Linked DNA regions of Homo sapiens: region 2 is linked to region 1. Evidence: promoter capture Hi-C in 16 types of primary human blood cells and fetal thymus (Javierre and others, 2016). All regions are on one chromosome and are shown on one strand. The core of a region is centred on a gene start or on the middle of the fragment in contact, and the rest is flanking DNA. Distances in the headings are between cores, read along the strand shown.

Region 1 (4,385 bases), core at 735-3,234:
CCATCACACAAATCTCGAATCATTTCCAGTCCAGATAAATGTTGAGGCCTTCAGGTCATAATACTGCATCAAAACGTGTGCATTCAGACTGCCTACATCCCCACATTTTATGACAAATTTATAAAACTGCAATGGCAAGAAAACAGCAAGGTCTAACCACAGTAAGTGCCACATCTTCAGTGTCAGCTTCCTTTTGGGTTTTTATGCACCTAGACTACCTGCTAGTATGTATCATTTTAACACTTCCTTGCAGACCAGTTATTTCTGACTATAAATACATACCCTGATATATTGCTGCAAATTAGAAGTGTGCTAAAGAAGAAAACTAATAGTTATTTCAGTGCCACCAGTCTCGCTTGCACTTGACTGAACAATCTATGGTGCCTGTATGGGCTGAACTATGTTCCCCCTAAATTAATATGCTGAGACTGTAACCCTCCGTATCTCAGAATGTGACTATATTTGGAGATAGAGCCTTTAAAGAGATAATTAAGTTAAAATAAGGCCACCATACAATCTTACTGGTGTCCTTATAAAAAAAAAAAAAACTAGAACATACAGAGACGCTAGGGGCAAGGTACACAGAGGAACCACCATGTGAAGAGGCAAAAAGACAGGCCTGGAGCAGATCCTTTTCTCATGGCTCTCAGAGGAAACCAACCTTGTCAGGACCTTGATCTTGGACTTCCAGCCTCCAGAACTGTGAGGAAATAAATTTCTGTTGTTTAAGCTCCACTCTGTGTGTGGCATTTTGTTATGGCAGCCCTAGCAAACTAATACAACACCTACAGCCTAATGAATTGGATTCCCCTGTTGGTGAACTGGAGGGCTGCAAACTATGACAAAGGCAATTAACATTAACATATCAGTAATTGCCTTTTGGTAATTTCAAAACTGTAGACAAAAGACTGAGACCGCTGATTTATTAAAATGTAATAAATACAGAATACATACAAAGCAATCAGTGTGGCTTCAAACCTGGGTCCTCTTCTAGCAGGTGCATGTACCTGAAGCTCAACTAGTGGCATGCCCAGCTACCCAGACAGAAGAAATAAGGTCAAATGTCAAGGTGTTTCCCTCTCCACAACAGATAATTCTGGTCATAACAGCTCTCTGGAGGTATGAATGAAGGCTGGGATAACACATCTCAGGATTCTTTCCTGTTTTATGATTCTAAAACTGACAGCAGAACCAGAATGCACTGGTTATAAAACAGGGTTTCCTCTGGCGTCACAAGCATTTCTGCCCTATCTATCTTGCCAGCTCATACGTGCTGTTCGGATATTTGGAATGCCCGGTGAGGTGAGAAAACATTTTAAAAGCTAGCTCTTCAGCAAATGACACTATTTAGTCAAACAGAGAAAACTCGAGACCATTTCTAAACTCACCCCTCCAGGCTTTCAAGACTTTACAACCCAGGCCACCGCCCAGGCAGAGTGCCCCGCCCTGGATCGCCCATACCTGCGTCTGGGACCTTCTGGGTTCCACCACTCGGACTCCCGATGCCCCAGCCCGGCAGCCCGACCCCCCGATCCCCCAGCTTCACGGCCCAACTCCCCCTCCAGCCAGATTTACCTCAGGCCTGGCGTGCTCCGGCCGGCTCGGATCTTCTGCACCCGCAAGGGGAGGCCTAGGAGACAGCTCAAGGCCGTAGAGACTCTCAGGATCTGGCCGCCCTGCAAAGGTTGGGGTACAGGGAGAAGAGAAGTAAGCACACCGGTGGTGAGAGCTCCCCTCCTTAGTTAGGCTGCAGCCCCGGCCGCTTCGCTCTGTACTCACCCCTTCCATGATGCTGCCATCGACCTCCACCCGCGGCCCCGCCATGGGGGACACCCTGGGGCCCAGCCCGCAGCGACAAAGCCTCCGCCAGAGCGGGAGAAAGAAGAGACGTTGGCTCCCGCCCAGTAGTTCAGAAACCTTGGTTCATGCCTGGGGCGCAGGAGCCTGACGAGAAAGCGGAAGAAGCGGCGCCTCTCGGGACACTGGAGTCAGCAGAAACGAACCCCCGGGTTCGCCCAGTTCCGCAGTCAGTGCGCATGCGCGTAGCTCGGCTTAAAGGAGCCGCGCTGGGAACACTGCGGTCGGGGCGAGGAAGCTGCCGGGGAAGTGAGATGACGGTCGCGGGGGTGCCCAGGAGCCCTGAAAAACTTGTGCCCTGGGCACGGCAAAATCTGCAGGTTGCAGAAAGTCTCAACTGTAAGATAACTCCTCCAGTTATCCCGCAGGCTTGTGCTTTATCTCTGTTTTGTGGGTAAATATGTGTTTATATCTGTTTTCTCGAGGATCCTGGCATACCCCGAGGTGCCGACTTTTAGAGCTGAAGATGCAAGAAAGATTGGGATCCTGCGATGCACCGAACCTGTCTCTCGAAGTGTGTGCGCCCTGGTACATTGATACTCTTGGCCTTTGGTTCCTTGCGGTGTGCGTGTTTGTGTATGCGGAGTGTGTTATCTTTCTTTCTAGGGTGACACACCATTTATTTGAGAGGCGGGAAAGGCAGAATCACTAGTTTAATATTCTGAAAAGCCAAAGTTATGCCATTTTGCTTGAGAGTGAGTGCAAGCTCTTGACTCCCAGGAACAGTGCAGCTAACAATTCACCTCAGGCGAGGGCAGAAGCAATAGCCAGCTTCTTGGTTCTGCCTGTGGCTCAGTTCCTACATAATTGAGTACCAAATAATATGTAAACCTCTAGGGAAGCAAAAAAGAGTAATTCAGCTTCTACCCCCGAAGTTATTGGAGGTATAATGGAGAGACTGAGACGTAATCAATTACAATGTCATCCTCAATAATAATTAACATGTACTGTATTTAGAGTTTATTATGGGGACAATTACAATATATTAATAATATACTGTAACAATAACAGGCAACACTTATTGAGCACTTAGGTGTTGTGCACTGCATGCATTCATAACATGATAAAGTACTTACTGTTTTTACTGTTTTACAGCTTCCTGTGTTAAACAATTTGCTACAAGGTCACACAATTTTAACTAGAAGACTGAGATGTGAACCTGGGTGGTCTGATGTGAACACCACTGTCTGGTAATCCCAACGCTCTGCTGCTTTGCGACAGAGAATGTTTTAGGGAACACACAGACTATGTACTTAACCAAATCTGGAATTTGCCGTAAGATATTAATCAGAGAAGTAATGATACTTGCATTTTAAAATGAAGGCTTTGGCAGTAGGAGAAGGGTGAATAAGAGGCTTAAGAGCCTGAAGGGAGAAATGCCAATGATACAATTATCCAGCAAGAAATAATCAGAAGTTGAAGTAAGGCAATGATGGTAGGGATGGAATATAAAAAAGCTGTACCCCTATCTGACATCTTTATTGGGGGAACCCGCCCCCAATATTTCAACGTAGGTTCTTTCTATTTTCCATAAGTGTTGGCCAGCTGAGAAATAAAGAGAGACAGTATAAAGAGAGGAATTTTACAGCTGAGCCACCGGGGGTGACATCACATATCGGTAGGACCATGATGCCCGCCTGAGTCTCAGACCAGCAAGTTTTTATTAAGGGTTTCAAAAGGGGAGGGGGTGTAAGAACAGGGAGTAGGTACAAAAGTACAAAGATCACATGCTTCAAAAGGCAAAAAGACCTTACTACTAGTAAGGGTCTAACAAAGATCACATGCTTCTGAGGGAACAGGACAAAGGGCAAAAGCAGAACTACTTATAAGAGTCCAACAAAGATCACAAGGCAAAGGGCAAAAGCAGAGCTACTGATAAGGGTCTATGTTCAGCAGTGCACATATTGTCTTAATAAACATCTTAAATAACAGAAAACAGGGTTCAAGAGCAGAGAACTGGTGTGACCACAAATTTACCAGGGCGGAGTTTTTCCCCACCCTAGTAAGCCTGAGGGTACTGCAGGAGACCAGGGCGTATCTCAGTCCTTATCTCAACCGCGTAAGACAGACATTCCCAGAGCGGCTGTTTATAGACCTCCCCACAGGAATGCATTCCTTTCCCAGGGTATTAATATTTATATTCCTTGCTAGTAAAAGAATTTAGCAATATCTCTCCTACTTGCACATCCATTTATAGGCTCTCTGCAAGAAGAAAAATATGGCTGTTTTTGCCCAACCCCACAGGCAGTCAGACCTTATGGTTGTCTTCCTTTGTTCCCTAAAAATTGCTGTTATTCTGTTCTTATTCAAGGTGCACTGATTTCATATTGTTCAAACACAGATGTTTTACAATCAACTTGTACAGTTAACACAATTATCACAGTGGTCCTGAGGTGATGTACATCCTCAGCTTACGAAGATAACAGGATTAAGAGATTAAAGTAAAGACAGGCATAAGAAATTATAAAAGTATTATTTGGGAACTGATAAATGTCCATGAAATCTTCACAATTTATGTTCCTCTGCCG
Region 2 (4,233 bases), core at 162-2,661, 70 kb before region 1:
GGTCCTTTTTTTTTTTTTTTTTTTTTTTTGAGGTGGAGTGTCATTCTTGTTGCCCAGGCTGGAGTGCAATGGCGCGATCTTGGCTCACCGCAACCTCCGCCTCCCGGGTTGAAGTGATTCTCCTGCCTCAGTCTCCCCAGTAGCTAGGATTACAGTCATGTGCCACCACACCCAGCTAATTTTGTATTCTTAGTAGAGATGGGGCTTCTCCATGTTGGTCAGGATGGTCTCGTCCCAATCTCAGGTGATCCGCCCACCTCGGCTTTCCAAAGTGCTGGGATTACAGGCATGAGTCACTGCGCCCATCCTGATTCCAAGTCTTTAGATAATAACTTAACTTTTTCGACCAATTGCCAATCAGGCAATCTTTGAATCTGCCTATGACCTAGGACATCCCTCTCCCTACAAGTTGCCCCGCGTTTCCAGACCAAACCAATGTACATCTTACATGTATTGATTGAAGTTTTACATCTCCCTAAAACATATAAAACCAAGCTATAGTCTGACCACCTCAGGCACGTGTTCTCAGGACCTCCCTGGGGCTATGGCATGGGTCCTGGTCCTCAGATTTGGCTCAGAATAAATCTCTTCAAATATTTTCCAGAATTTTACTCTTTTCATCACCATTACCTATCACCCATAAGTCAGAGTTTTCCACAACCCCTTCCTCAGATTCAGTAATTTGCTAGAATGGCCACCAAACTCAGGAAAGTATTTTACTTACAATTACCAATTTATTATGAAGAACTCAAATCAGGAATAGCCAAATGGAAGAGGCATAGGGAAAGGTATGGAGGAAGGGGCACAAAGCTTCCATGCCCTGTGTGCACACCACCCTCTCAGCATCTTCATGTGTTCACCAACTCAGAAGCTCTTCAAACTTTGTCATTTAGGGGTTTTTATGGCAGTTCCACTATGTAGGCATGGTTGATAAATCACTGGTCATCGGTGATAGAACTCTGTCTCCAGCTCCTCTCTCTCTCCTCCCCAGAAGTCCTGAGGTGGGGCTGAAAGTTTCACAAGGTTAGTTGCTCTGACAACCAGCCCCTATCCTGAAGCTATTGAGGGGTCCCCCAAAAGTTACCTTAGTATGGTTGGAAGAGGCTTATTATGAATAACAAAAGATGCTCCTATTTTTACCACTAGGGAGCATATCCAAGTCTTGCGGGAACAAAGCATGTTACTGGTAGCAAATTCATACAGGTAGATAGCAATCTCAATTCTTGCCTTCTCAGAAGAAAGAATTTGACCAAGGGGGCATAAGGCAGAGTGAGGGACCAAGATAAGTTTTAGAGCAGGAGTGAAAGTTTATTAAAAAGTTTTAGGCAGGAATGAAAGAAAGTAAAGTACATTTGGAAGAGGGCCAAGTGGGCGACATGAGAGAGTCAAACACCATGCCCTGTTTGATGTTTGGCTTGGGGTCTTATATGATGACATGCTTCTGAGGGTTGCATCCTTCTCCCCTGATTCTTCCCTTGGGGTGGGCTGTCCGCATGCACAATGGCCTGCCAGCAGTAGGGAGGGGCCGCATGCACACAGTGTTTACTGACATTGTGCACATGCTCATTTGAAGCATTTTTCCCTTAGCAGTCGAGGGCTTAAACTCCACCATTTTGCCTCTTAAAGTGCATGCTTGAGCCCACCCACCCAACTTCTGAGATCTTACCTGGAAGCAGCTAATCACTAGTTTCAGGTGTTTCCTATCTATTGAGAGACTGCCTTTCCCTGGCGCTGGCTACAATCAATGATTATTTAGAGAGAAAGTTATCAACTGCATGACCATCATCTGATGGTCACCTGATGTTCCTGGTTGGGCGGTGGGTAGGGAGGTCTCATGCCCTGCTCTTGTCTGCCTACCTATAGTAACACTATCGCCCCTATCATTCAGGAAATTCCAAGGGTTTTAGAAGTTCCATGTCAGGAACTGGGGACAAAGATCAAACACATATTTCTTATTTATCACAGGTAGAAAAAGAAAAGAAGCCTAGGAATTACTTGCAAAAGGAAGCTTTCTGAGTCTTTCCATTTTCTAAAGACTTTGTTGCATTTGCCCAAAATTATTTAAGAAGGGGCCTTTAACTGCAAATATGCTAATTATAAACTGAAAGTATTTATTGTGTAGCATGGTGCATTTGAGCTTTATTAAGTTTTAGATTAAACCTAAATACACAGTGTCTTAATTTAATTTAAATTAAATTAAGATTTAAATTAATTTAAATCTGCTTCCCCAAGAAGCAGATTTTGAAACAAGAATTCAAGTGCAAGTAATTTATTTGGGATGTACAAGGAAACCATCTGGGAAGTGAAGAAATGGGGCAAGGAAGTGAAGGCAACTAATAGAGGGTGTGTCCTTGAGCCTAGCTACCACTGGCTTGGTGTGATATAAAACCACGAGCCTAAGAACTATCCCCACAGGAGCTGTGATATTTATCCACCAACTCCTGTCACCCATTGGTGGAGGGCTGCTCCTAGGGGTGTTAATTTCTGAGCATTTCCTTTGGTGCATGCAGGATTCAGAAGTTCTTAGGCACAAAGATGCAGATATTGGCAGGTGGAAGTCTTGGAAGCCAAGGGGAAGGGAGCATACAGTGTCAACGATAACAGAAAATCAAAATCAGAAAGAACAATTGTCTTTCGTTTTCTCAAATAGAATGTGGTTTTTCTGTTGCCTTTCATGCAAAAACTCCTCAAAATTTTTCTATCTTCTCTGCCTCTAATCCTTCTCCTCTCATTGTGTTTTTAACACACTCTAATCAGGCTCTGTACCCACTATTCCACCAGAATGTTCTTGTCAAGGTCACCAGTGATCCACAAGATGCTAAATTCAATGGCCAATTCTTAGTCCTCATCTTACTGGACCTATTACTAGCATTGATTGATTGATCAATTGAAACAGGGTCTCACTCTGTTGCCAAAGCTGGAGTGCAGTGGCACACTCATGGCTCAGTGCAGACTCAACCACTCCTCCCATCTCATCCTCCCAGGTAGCTGGTACCAAAGACGTAGAGATGGGGTCTCCCTATGTTGCTCAGGGACAACAAACTGGTCTCAAACTCCTAGACTCAAACGATCCTCTTGCCTTAGCCTTCCAAGGTACCGGGATTACAGGCATGGGCCACCACACCTGGCTCTATTTAACCGTTGTTTGCTTTCTCCTCCTCTGATCACTTTCCTTAATTGGCTTTCATGACATCATAGATCCTGGTTTTTGGTTTCCCTTCTGTCTCATGGGCTGCTGCTTTTTTAGACTCTCTCCTCATTTTTTGGGCTTTTTAAATTTGGAGTACCCAGGACTCAGAGCCTATACACTTCTCTATCTCAGCCACTCCCTTTGTGATGTCATGTAGTTATATGACTTTTAACTGTGATCTATATGTTTACTTGCAAATGTTTATCTCCAACCCTGACCTCTCTACTGATCTCCTGACATATATTTAACTGTATGCTAGACATTTTCACTTAAATGTCCAAAAGACCTTTCAAACTTAGTGTGTCTCAAAACAAATTCCTGATCTTTCCTCTAAAACTTGGTCCTTATGCAATCTTCCTCATCTCAGTTGATGACAACTTCACCTTTTTGGTGGCTTAGGCCAAAAGCCTTGGATTTATCCTTGACTCCCCTCTTTGTCCTATACCACATCTAATTTATAGCAATCCTCTGTTACCTCTATCTTCAAAATATATTCAGAACTGGAACAGTACTCCAGCAAGTGCCATATCCAAGCCACCATCATCTCTGAATAATTGCAAGAATCTCCTAGCTGGCTTCCCTCAGAGCAGCCAGAGGGATCCCTTTAGAATGCTAAATAAGGTCATATCACTTCTTGGCTCAAAAACTCTTTAATGATATCCCAAATCATTTGGAGTGAAATCATTCAGAACAAAAGCCAAAATCTGCTGTTGTTGTGTTTTCTTGAGACGGAGTCTCACTCTGTCACCCAGGCTGGAGTGCAGTGGTGCAATCTCAGCTCACTGAAACATCTGCCTCCCAGGTTCAAGCGATTCTCTTGCCTCGGCCTCCCAAGTAGTTGGCATTACAGGCATGTAGCACCATGCGTGGATAATTTTTTTGTATTTTTAGTAGAGATGGGGTTTCACCAGTTTGGCCAGGCTGGTCTCGAACTCTTGACTTCAGGTGATCCACCCGCCTCAGCCTCCCAAAGTGCTGGGATTACAGGCATGAGCCACCGCACCCGGCCAAAAGCCAAAATCTTTAGAATGGCATGTAAGGCT

What was found. Contacts are between HindIII fragments. The CHiCAGO score rates a contact against its expected background, and 5 or more counts as called.
Region 2: a contact is called between a fragment that was not itself captured here and the fragment with the promoter of RTCA in region 1, in 1 of 17 cell types (erythroblasts). The highest score is 5.4, in erythroblasts.

What each region holds. Positions count from the first base shown.
Region 1 is chr1:100,263,815-100,268,199 of GRCh38, reverse strand. RTCA (RNA 3'-terminal phosphate cyclase) reads right to left here and starts at 1,984. Exons shown (of 11, transcript NM_003729.4): 1 at 1,780-1,984; 2 at 1,576-1,676; 3 at 1-48. The coding sequence starts at 1,824. RTCA-AS1 (RTCA antisense RNA 1) reads left to right here and starts at 2,026. Exons shown (of 3, transcript NR_110435.1): 1 at 2,026-2,196; 2 at 2,283-2,371; 3 at 2,953-3,458. RefSeq lists enhancers at 1,816-2,175, 1,744-2,293. The HindIII fragment of the contact is 11,806 bases long and covers 1-4,385 here.
Region 2 is chr1:100,333,799-100,338,031 of GRCh38, reverse strand. No RefSeq gene overlaps it. Among named protein-coding and RNA genes, the nearest start is that of CDC14A, 17 kb to the left of the region's middle. The HindIII fragment of the contact is 1,198 bases long and covers 813-2,010 here.